Regions from separate parts of the Homo sapiens genome. Here all the other regions are linked to region 2. Evidence: promoter capture Hi-C in human tissues and cell types (Jung and others, 2019). All regions are on one chromosome and are shown on one strand. Each heading gives the region's core, a stretch centred on a gene start or on the middle of the fragment in contact. The rest is flanking DNA. Distances are from core to core; before and after follow the strand shown. Region 1 overlaps AHDC1 (AT-hook DNA binding motif containing 1). Region 2 holds the start of MAP3K6 (mitogen-activated protein kinase kinase kinase 6). Region 3 overlaps SLC9A1 (solute carrier family 9 member A1).

Region 1 (4,016 bases), core at 1,478-3,977, 220 kb after region 2:
ACAACATTTTAACCAACCAAAAACTTGGGTTTTTTTTTTGAGATGGAGTCTCGCTCTGTCGCCAGGCTGGAGTGCAGTGGTGCCATCTCAGCTCATTGCAACCTCCGCCTCCCGGGTTCAAGCGATTCTCCTGCCTCAGACTCCCGAGTAGCTAGGATTACAGGTGCATGCCACCATGCCCAGCTAATTTTTGTATTTTTAGTAGAGACGAGGTTTCACCATGTTGGCCAGGCTGATCTCGAGCTCCTGACCTCAGGTGATCTGTCCACCTCAGCCTCCCAAAATGCTGGGATTACAGGTGTAAGCCACCACGTCCCGCCTGTTTTTGTTTTTGAGACAGGGTCTCGCTCTGTATCCCAGGGTGGAGTGTAGTGGCGTGATCATAGCTCACTGCAGCTTCAACCTCCTGGGCCCAAGCAATCCTCCCACCTCAGCCTCCCAAGTAGCTGGGACCATAGGCATGTGCCATCACACCTGGCTACTTAATTTTTTATGTTGCCCAGGCTCAAAACTTTAAAAAAATATATTTTTAAAAAAAATTTTTCTGGAGAGAAAGCCCCTAGGTCTCATCATCTTCTCAAAATGGGTCCTTAGCCAAAATGGTAACCAAGAGAAAAAAAAAAAAAGGCAGGCACGCCTTTAGTTCAATCCAAATGGGAAAATAGAGGTGTGTAATAAAGAAGGGACCCTCAGAAAATCTGGGCAGATCCAAGGCCAGAACCCAGGGGTATCCTCTCCCAGGCCCTACTCCTTCCTCCAGTCCAAGTGGTCTCTCTGATCTGACCTCATCATGTCTCACCTACTTGGCCATGACAGCTTCCTGGTGGGCTCCCCCACCTCCAGTCACCTCCTCTGAATCTCTTCCACCTCGAGCTAGCTACATCTTCCTCAAATCCCATTCTCATGACTCTGCGTGTCTGCCCTGAAACCTTTAACAGCTCCCTACTGCTGACGACAACATCAAGGCCAAGGTCTTTAGCCTGACATTCAGGGGCCTTCAGAGCCAGCTTTGGCCCCACCAACCTCCTGGCTGTTCTCTCTCATCTGGTCAGCGGGGCTGACTTCTTCCTCTCCTCTCTTCCCCTCCCCTGAGTCTCAACACCACCCACACACTCACTCCGTTCTGGACAGATTCTGCCCCTTTGCTCAATCACACAGTGTCTCAGGCCTCCCCTGCTATGCCCTTGGGATTGCCTCTGGGTCCAGCCAACCTCTGAACTCACCCTGATTCCGCCAGACCAGCAGAAGCTGGCCAGGCTTGGCTCCAGGAAACAGGCCTCTGCCCCTGCTCTCCAGCGCAGCTCCATCCCTGGACATTGACCCACCTCGGCACTGCCCACACCCCTCCAATTCCCATCATCTCTTTTCATCTATCCTCTAGACTTTCAGGAACAGAACAGCGAATCCCACAGGGAGTTAGCAGGTATAGCACTGTCCTCAAAGTCATGACTCTTGACTCAGTCAGATTGTTGTCTTCAAGCCACACTGTCCTTATCTATAAAATTGGGATGGCAATACCTGTATCTCACTTGATTCTCACAAGGAATAACTGCCTTGTAAACTGGAAGGTGCTTTTTCTACTAAAACCTGCTATACAAATAAGAGTAACAACAGCCTCCATCTGTACATTGATTTAAAACTGCAGTAACCCTGTAATGTGGGCATGCCCAATGCCCCTTCTCTGATTCATTTTCCTCCTTGGTACATATCACCATCTAACGACCATTTATTTCACTTGTTTTTACATTAACTGTCTGTTTTACCCTCTAAATGTAAGCTCCTTGAGGGCAGGGATTTGTGTCTGTTTTGTTCACTGCTGTGTGTCCTAGAAAAGTGCCTGACATCAAGTGTGCACTTGATGGTTAAGGAATGAATGCATGAGTCAAGTGCTTACTGCATGGCAGGCACTGTGCTAAGCACTCCTCACAGAGCATCTCATCGGAGGGGTCAGGTACTTTGATGACCCTGTGTTTTGGAGATGCGATGTTCAGTTGACTTGCCCTGTTCACATGGTGGGACACAACTTAGCTAGGATTGGACTGCAGAGCCTGCCTTCTTGATCACTATACTGTAGTTTCTGTCCAGATGGGGGTTTATTTCTATTTCTCTTTTTTTTGAGACGGAGTCTTCCTCTGTCACCCAGGCTGCAGTGCAATAGCGCACTCTCGGCTCACTGCAACCTCCGCCTCCTGGGTTCAAGTGACTGACGAGTAGCTGGGATTACAGGTGCCTGCCACCACATGGGGTTTCACCATGTTGGCCAGGCTGGTTTCGAACTCCTGACCTCAGGTAATCCGCCCACCTCAACCTCCCAAAGTGCTGGGATTACAGGCGTGAGCCACCATGCCTGGCCGTTTATTTCTATTTCTACATTAGCTAAGCCTCTCGAATCTGTCACCCTCCCTATGTCCTTGAGGCCACCAGCCCTCCCAATCCTCATCCTGATCTCACTCAGCAATTTCCTCCCACTTCTGAGCCCTAAGCCGCGTTCATTCTCACCTCAGGGCCTTTGCTGGTGCCCGGCACCCTGCCTGGCATGCTCTGGCTCCCCCATCTCTTTCAACTACCCATTTCTCAAGATTCACCTCTTCTGGGAAGCCCTCCCTCCAGACTTCACTTGTTCCCTTCCCTGAGCTCATGTCTTGTTGTTTATTGCTGAGAAAACCCACTCGGGGAGTGTATGTTGATTTGGTTCATTCTCTAATTGTTTCCTGAAGTTGAAGGCCTTGCCCACCTCTGTCCTTCCTTTCTATTCCCCCTGTCCCTCTCCTGGCCAGGTCTCTCCCTCCTTCCTCTGCTGGATCAATGCCCTCACCCCTAACCCGTCTCTTAATCAGGTTTAAAGCTTTGTGACTAATAGTGTGGCTTTTGAGTCTCTCACACTGCAGCTCCACCCTCTCCCTATTAGCTGTGTTTCCTTGGGCATGTCACTGTACCTCTTTGAACCCGATTCCTATCTGTGAAATAAGGATAATATGAGCCCCTGCTTCATGAGCAAATGTGCCTGGCACATAGTAACCACTAAGTATCAGCTCTTTATTATTTCTATAGCATCTTATCATTTCACTTATCTCCATTCTGAAGGCTTCAGCCTCCTCTCTGCCTCCTTCCCAAGCAGTTGTCCCCTCTTTCCAGATTATGGTGGTAACAATAAGATTGCTAACATGACCCCTTATGATCTGCAGTGACTGGAAACATGTCTGGCACCCAGCAGGTGCTTCATATTAGTTGTTGAATAAATTAATTAGCTAATTTAATCCTCACAACACCCTATGGAGGAGAGGAGAACTAGTATTATACTCATTTTACAGACAAGGAAATCAAGGCCCAGAGAGGGAAAGCAGCTCCCAGGGGCTGGGATTTAAACCCAAGCCGTCTGACTCCAAAGTCGGGACGCTCACTGCCCATTCCATCCTCACCATTCCCATCCTTATCTGCTCTGATGCCAACCCCAGGGAGGGACCCTTTCTTTCTCCAGGTATTGGATCTTAGCATCTAGATGGATGCTCACTGAGCCCCTGCTCCAAAGCTAAACCTTCATGTTTTATCTCATTTGAGCCTCACAAAACCCTATAGCATCAATGCCATTATTATTTCCCCTCAACAGGTGAGGAAACTGAGGCTCAGAGAGGAGTCAAGTAACTAAGGACACACAGGATTCAAAGCCCAAATTCTTTAAATGACATGATTTTTTTGCAATGTTTTTCTCTTATTGTTTTATCCCACTGTTGAGAATTGACCACACCTATCAGCCTTGTTTTTCCAGTTAGTTGGGCAGCAAGCTCTCTGAGGCCAACCCTTCCACCTCTCCCATTGGTGGCCAGCACTGTAGCGGGGTGAGCTGTGCTCTATAGAGGCTTCTGAACCACTGATCTGCACACTCCTAGCGAGGCACAGCCTGACACTCTGCCTGTTTCCCCCACAGCACTCTGCCTTATCACCCCATCAAACTTAGTGTTGGGAAGGGCAGGGCTAGGTCTCCCCTTCGGCCTAGACTAGAGGCTCCCCAGAGATGC
Region 2 (3,627 bases), core at 369-2,868:
ATGTATAGCTTACTATGTCTGACTGTATCTGTGTGTGTGACAGCGTCTGCTAGGGCCTGCATGAGTCAACATGTATGCGATTTGTGTCTGTCGATAATTGTATCTTTGTGTCCGAGTGGTCGGGTCAGCCTTCATTTTAGGCTACGATTTCATGGACATCCAGGAAGCACAGCTACTGGACTCTAGCATAAGCAAGTAAGTATGGGGGCCGAGCATCCGGGCTGGCTGGAGGGAGGAGTGACTCGCGGGGGAATAGCCTCCTTCTGGCCCCGCCCCTGAGCCATCCTTTCCCGCCCACTTCCCCGCCCCTTCCCCGCCCATTCTTTCTGGGCCGCTGAGGCCACTTAACCTAAGCTCCCTCACCCAGTATCCAGTCCCGTCGGGCCCCTTCGCTTCTCTTTTTGCCTCTCCTAGCCCGATCCTTGGAAATAGTATGCTAGGACTCCTGAACTCCAGCCTCCCGGCCCCTTTCCCTAAGTCCAAGCTCCTCTCCCAGTAATTGTCCTCAAGAGATCCGCGTGACATTCTCCTGAGGGTGAGGCTGAGTTCTCCAACCCCACCCCTGAGACACCACAGCCCCGCGCCGCTCCCCGCCCCGCCCCAGAGTTCCAAAGCCCCTCCCCATCCTTGCCCCGCTGGCTGGGCACCGCTCCGACTGAAGGGTGCCTAAGCCCCAACCTCGAGCCCTAGAGCCGCGCCCGGATCCCTGTCTCGTCCCGAGCCCGGCCGCGCCCCAGATCCCCTAAATCCCACTTTTTTCACGGCCCTGTCCCAAGCCCTTCAGCTTTAGCTCACTTTAAGTCCCCTAGACCCGGTACCCCTCTCGGCCCCTCCCTTGAGCCTTCGAGCCCGGCTTGGTCCCCTCCCAGGACCCTGAGTCCCGCCCGGATCCGGCCCCGCCCCCAGCGCTCTCACCCGCGTTGTAGAAGGCATCCAGAGCCGCGGTGTCGCCTAGCTCCAGCGTCCCGAAGGGCAGGCTGCGCAGCTGCGGGGGCGGCCGCGGCCGGGGGACCTGCGCGCAAGCCTCGCGCAGGCAGCGCAGGGGCAGCGGCTCCGCCTCGGTTCCCTCCCGAGGCTCGAGCCCGGGCTGCGGCTCCCGGGTCAGCACGTAGACCACGCTGAGCGGCCGGCTCCGCGCGCAGCCCCGGCCCGGGGGCGCCGCGAGCTGCCGGCCCCGGCTCAGCGCCACGGCCAGCGGGTCCTGCCAGCAGCTGCCGGCGCGCTCCGCCCCGGACCGGGGACACGGCCCCGCCATGCGGGGGCGCTCAGGCGCGGGGCGCCGCGCACTGGGAACCGGGGGCGGGGCAGGAGCCTGGGCCGGCAGATCAGGAATCTTGGGATCTGGAATCCGTTCGGAATCGGAGAATCTCCCACGGGATCTAGGGATCCGGAATACGGCCTGACGTCCCGTTCCAGGAATCTAAAGTCCAGGGAGAAATCCTAGCTCGGACTTGCAAGGTCCTGAGGTTCTGAAATCCGGGATTGGGTCCCAGGAATCTGGGGCATCCGGTGATCGGCAGCTCAGAGCCACTTGGGGGATCCTGGGAATCGGCTCGGAGGTGCCCGCCACCTGGACTTCTCAAGGGAGCGCCCGCCAACGCTGCCCTGCCTTCACTTGTAGGCTAAGCCCAGCCCTTTCCCGGCCGACCCAGAAAGCTCCACCCTCGGCCCTGGGGCAGAGCCGCTCCCTAGCGGCTTGAGACTCAGCCTCTCCCCTCCCTTCTCTCCCGCCAGAACTTTGGAGACTGGCGGCTTCCGGAACAGCCTGTGCCCCTGTGCACGCCAAAGACTGTGGACTGCTCACAGCAAGTGCACATAAAATGTGTGAGGAGGCCAGGGCTAGGGAAAAGGTTCGATATGCAGGCCCTGCTCTGCAGGTATCTGTTGAATGAATGGCTCTCTAGAGACATCAGGGTGCGCAGAGCATGATGAACAATGGGTGTCCTCCCGGGCCCAGTGAGCGCAGGCAGGGAGGGACTGGGATGGGGGAAACCTACACCCTAGGCCGCTTGCCCGAAAGCCTTCAGTCCTGGAGTGGGACTTGGCATCTGAGCCTTAACTGTCACTAGGGGGCTGCTTTCCCCAGGACCCAACCTGCTGTGGACCCCCGCTGACCTTTGACTTCTAGGCAGAACGTGGCCATGGGACCTGAGAAGCACTTCCTACTCTAAACAACTCTAAACATTTCTTTAGCCACCCCTTGAAGGAGTCAACCCCAGCCCTTTGCACTACAGCAGCTTCTCAGCTTCAAATCCCCAAGAGTCCCCAACTTTCTTGTGTGAATTAATGAGTGAGGCAGCAACCTGGTAGAAGCCTCAGTGGACCCTGAAACCAAGAACTGGGGACTTAAGTTGAATAACTTGTCCAGGATCACTCAGCACATGACAGCAGGGTGCAAACCCAGGACCGCCTGTCAGACTCTTAACTATTTAATTCTGCCACTTACTAGAATGTGGCTTTGGGCAAATAAACTGCTTAAATGCTACTCAATGGCTGTTTCATTGCCCTGTTGCCTTGTGGAAGAAAAAGGTACCTTCCTTGGTTTGACCTTGGATTCGAACTGACACCCAATGAGATAGGCAGGAAGTGGTAGAGTTTGAGAACTTGGCCTGCAACAGAGGCTGGAGTGGAAAACAGACAACTTACAAAGGACAGGCATGGGCAACCGACAGGCTGAGAAAGCTGTGCAATTCCCAGCCAGGGCGGTGGCTCATGCCTGTAATCCCACTTTGGGAGGCCAAGATGAGTGGATCACGAGGTCAGGAGTTCGAGACCAGCCTGGCCAACATGGTGAAACCCCGTCTCTACTAAAAATACAAAAAAAAGTAGCTGGGTGTGGTGGCACCTGCCTGTGATCCCAGCTACTTGGGAGCTGAGGCAGGAGAATCACTTGAACCTGGGAGATGGAGGTTGCGGTGAGTGGAGATCGTGCCATTGCACTCCAGCCTGGGCGGGGCGACAGAGCAAGACTCCATCTCAAAAAAAAAAAAAGCTATGCAATTGTGCAATTCCTGCCACAAAGCCATCCACTTGCAGGACCCAGAGGGCCTCGGGAAATTGTCAATGGATGCTTGGATCTCCTCTAATCCTTCCACTGTATGCCCCTCTGGCTCATTGCACTCCAGCCTGGGCAGGGCGACAGAGCAAGACTCCATCTCAAAAAAAAAAAAAAAAAAAAAGCGGCCGGGCGCAGTGGCTCACACCTGTAATCCCAGCACTTTGGGAGGCCGAGGAGGGCAGATCATGAGGTCAGGAGATTGAGACCATCCTGGCTAACATGATGAAACCCCGTCTCTACTAAAAATACAAAAAATTCGCCGGGCGTGGTAACGGGTGCCTGTAGTTCCAGCTACTCGGGAGGCTGAGGCAGGAGAATGGCGTGAACCTGGGAGGCAGAGCTTGCAGTGAGCCAGGATGGTGCCACTGCACTCCAGCCTGGGCGACAGAGCGAGACTGCGTCTCAAAAACAAACAAACAAACAAACAAACAAAAAAGCTGTGCAATTGTGCAATTCCTGCCACAAAGCCATCCACTTGCAGGACCCAGAGAGCCTCAGGAAATTGTCAATGGATGCTTGAATCTCCTCCAGTCCTTCCACTATATGCCCCTCTGGCCTTGTCTTGCACA
Region 3 (3,527 bases), core at 727-3,226, 240 kb before region 2:
AGATGCCACCTCCCCAGAGAGGTCCTCCCAACCCTCTCTATCCGCTTACCCTTGCCACTTCCTGACGTCTAGATGTGCTTTCTGACCGTTCCCCACCCAGAACATAAGCCTCGTGAGGGCAGCCTCTGTCCCAATCACTGTTGTATCCCTGGCACCTTAGGCTGTACCTGGCACACAGGAGGTTCACAATCAATGTTTGCTGGATGGATGACTTTCTCTTACCTCAGTGACCTCACAAGGTTGTGAGGATTACATGAGACCACAAACACAAAAGCACTGGGCGAACCACAAGATGTTGTCGGGGGGGTCACCATCAGCTTGTCCCTTGGAGAGCCACTCTTCCAAGGTGCTGCTCAGCAGTTTTTCCTAAATACCCCAGGGAGCAGAACCCAGTCACGCTCAGTTCTGTGGCCTGCAGAGCCTGGGACCACACAGCCCTCTATTAAGAGTCTGATGACACGGCACAGCTGGTTGGTCTGTCTCCCCCTCCAGACCACAAGCAAGTTTCTACCTGCAAGCAAGGCTAGGGACCCTGTCCTATTCATCTTTGACTCTCTAGGCCTCAGCACGGAGCCTGACACATAGTAAGGATAAAGACTTGTTGAGCTAGCAGAACTGTTTGAGGGCAGAAGTCATGTCTGGTTTAACTTTTTTTCCTTCCCTTTTGTGTATATATTTTTGGGTTTAACTTAATCTCCAGTGTTTGGCACTAAGCACATGGACACTAAGCTCCAGCTGAATTGGCCTTTTCCTTGAAGGAAGGGTGAGAGTTAGGCACCAAGAAGGCCTGGCAGGCAAATCAGCAGCATCTGGAAAGACAGGACAGGGAAACGAGTGTGGTACAGGTAGAAGATTTATTTTTTGCGGGGGGAGGGGGCAGGGAAAACAGAGTCTGGCTGTGTTGCCCAGGCTGGAGTGCAGTGGTACGAACATGGCTCACTGCAGCCTTGACTTCCTGGGCTCAAGTGATTCTCTCACCTCAGCCCCCCATGTAACTGGGACTACAGGCGCGTGCCACCATGCCTAGCTAGTTTTTGTATTTTTTGTAGAGATAGGGGTTTTGCCATGTTGCCCAGGCTGGTCTCAAACTCCTGAGCTCAAGAGATCTGCCTGCTTTGCCTCCCAAAGTGCTGAGATTACAGGCGTGAGCCACTGAGCCCAGCCCAGGTAGAGGCTTTCTATTGGAGCAAATGGCAGTGGACTGGAGTGGAAATCATTACTTAGATGCTGTAAAGCAGACTTTTCTCTCGCCCTCACAACATGCCCTGGCAGTGGGCAACAGATGAGAGAACAGACATTGAGAGAGGTCCAGACACAGGCCCAAGATCACATGGGTAGCAGCGGAGGCAGGTCCCAAACCCAGAACTACTGACTCCCAATCCAGCGCTCAGCCAAGGCCAGTTATGAAAGGCCACAAATACCCTGCAGGGAGAGAATTCCCAATCACCCTGCTGAGCCAGGCAGAGCCACTGGAGGGCTCTGGCCTGGGGAACAACATGAAATTCTGCCACTTCAGGGAGGTGGTCAAGGGAGACAGCGCTGGCCACCCAGGCTCAGCACCTGGCATAGGGCAAAGTTGTCCAAATGCACAGCCATTTAGTCTCAGCTCCAGGGACAGCTGGCACTGCCTCCTGCACAATACCAGCAGGATGGGTGAGCACCCCCTCCATCCTACCTCCAAATGCCTCAAAAGACCAGAAAACTACAATTCTGAGAAAAGAAAGGCCTGAGTCAAGCCCAGGCTGGGGATCAGGGGAACTGGGCTTCAGTCTAGACTCAGCCACTAACATTCTGTGGGCTTTGAACAAGCCGTTGCTTCTCTTTGGTCTCAGTCTCTCCATCCTTGGGGGCTTGTTGAGAGCCTCTCTACCTCTGACATCTGACTGATGAACTCTGCAGCTGGACAAAGTCGGGCTCTGTGATACTCACCATCTCTGTCCATGCCAGCAACTGTGGCATCTGGGTACAGAATAGCATTCGTGCCATAGCAAGCTTGCACGAGGCAGCAGCGGGCAGCGTAAAGAGCTCTGGTCCATCAATGAGGGAGGTAGTTTCTGTCCCAATTCTAAATCTTAACTTCTCTGTGACCTAATAAGGCAAATCACGGTACTGCCCTGAACCTCAGTTTCTTCCTTTCTAACATTGGGATAAAGAATGTCTATGGCACAGCGTTGCTGTAAGAGGAGAGAACAGAGACAGAAACACTCAGAAAAAAGCAAAAACAAAAATATATGCCCAGGCCAGGGGAGGTGGCTCACACCTGAATCCCAGCAGCGGGGGAGGCCGAGGCGAGAGGATCACTTGAGCCCAGGAGTTTGAGAGCAGCCTGGGTAACGTGGCAAAACCCATCTCTACAAAAAATTTAAAAATTAGTTGGGCATGGCTGGTGCATACCTGTAGTCCCAGCTACTAGGGAGGCTGAGGTGGGAGGATCACCTGAGCCCGGGAGGTTGAGGTTTCAGTGAGCCGAGATCATGCCAACTGCACTCTATCCTGGGCAACAGGGTGAGACCCTGTCTTTAAAAAAAAAAAAAAAAAAGGCCAGGCGTGGTGGCTCATGCCTATAATCCCAGCACTTTGAGACGCCAAGGCGGGCGGATCACCTGAGGTCAGGAGTTTGAGACCAGCCTGGCCAACATGGTGAAACCCCATCTCTATTAAAAATACAAAATTAGCCGGGCGTAGTGGTGCATGCCTGTAATCCCAGCTACTTGGGAGGCTGAGGCAGGAGAATCACTTGAACCCAGGAGGTGGAGGTTGCAGTGAGCCGAGATCCTCACGCCATTGCACTCCAGCCTGGGCAAAAAGAGGGAAACTCCATAAACAAACAAACAAACAAACAAACAAATGCATGCACGCACGCACGCATGCCAGACACTCCCGTGCAGATCTAGATTCCCAGAAACCAGCAGCGGCAGGGTCCCAGAGGCAAGCTGGCAGCACTAGGGAGGCAAGAGCTTCTCCTAAACAGGCACCTGAGGGGGAAGCTGTCCAACTGCACAGCATTAAGGCTCCATGGGCAGCAGGCACTGCCTCCTGCACAATACCAGCAAGATGGGTGAGCTTTCCTGATACTGGATCCTCTATCTCAAGGGGGTCCCCTAAGGGTCTCCCATACACTTCTGATAACGATCCAGCTGGCTGGGCTCTGTGTGGTGGGAGAGACAGGGCATGCTTGGAGGGCCTCTCCCTGCCTCCTCTCCCACCACACTGGGGATAGTTTGTCACTTCAGGCCTCTAGGAGCCACGAGATGTAGAGTGGATAGGAGAACTGAGCATGCTCAGAGGAGGCTGCCCTTTAGAGGACACTGCAGAGAAAAGATGAGGACACGGCCAGCTGCAGGGCTTGGTCCTGGTGCCAGGAAGGCCCAGGGCTCTAGAAACAGCAATGGGAGGTCAGCTCTCTCCTGTGGGAGAAGAGGGGCAGCAAGAAGTCAGAGATTAGAAGAGGGAGGGCCCTCTGAGACCATCCAGTGCAACCCCTCTATTTTACAGATGCAAAGGATGAAGCCCAGAGAGGGGACGGA

The links. The method cuts DNA at HindIII sites, captures the fragments that hold promoters and counts their contacts. A contact is called where the count stands out against the background at its distance.
Region 1: a fragment that was not itself captured here is called in contact with the fragment with the promoter of MAP3K6 in region 2 in 2 of the 25 tissues and cell types used here (mesenchymal stem cells and pancreas).
Region 3: a contact is called between a fragment that was not itself captured here and the fragment with the promoter of MAP3K6 in region 2, in 6 of the 25 tissues and cell types used here (H1 embryonic stem cells, dorsolateral prefrontal cortex, heart right ventricle and 3 more).

Annotation. Positions count from the first base shown.
Region 1 is chr1:27,580,815-27,584,830 of GRCh38, forward strand. The region is part of intron 3 of AHDC1 (AT-hook DNA binding motif containing 1); the gene reads right to left. Among named protein-coding and RNA genes, the nearest start is that of AHDC1, 21 kb to the right of the region's middle. RefSeq lists an enhancer at 631-1,160. The HindIII fragment of the contact is 4,137 bases long and covers 660-4,016 here.
Region 2 is chr1:27,365,343-27,368,969 of GRCh38, forward strand. It overlaps MAP3K6 (mitogen-activated protein kinase kinase kinase 6), which reads right to left and starts at 1,619. Exons shown (of 29, transcript NM_004672.5): 1 at 916-1,619. The coding sequence starts at 1,255. RefSeq lists silencers at 208-277, 868-917, 988-1,207, 1,238-1,347 and enhancers at 600-1,543, 1,544-2,485. The HindIII fragment of the contact is 34,431 bases long and covers 1-3,627 here.
Region 3 is chr1:27,126,137-27,129,663 of GRCh38, forward strand. All of the region lies in intron 1 of SLC9A1 (solute carrier family 9 member A1), which reads right to left. Among named protein-coding and RNA genes, the nearest start is that of SLC9A1, 27 kb to the right of the region's middle. The HindIII fragment of the contact is 6,234 bases long and covers 1-3,527 here.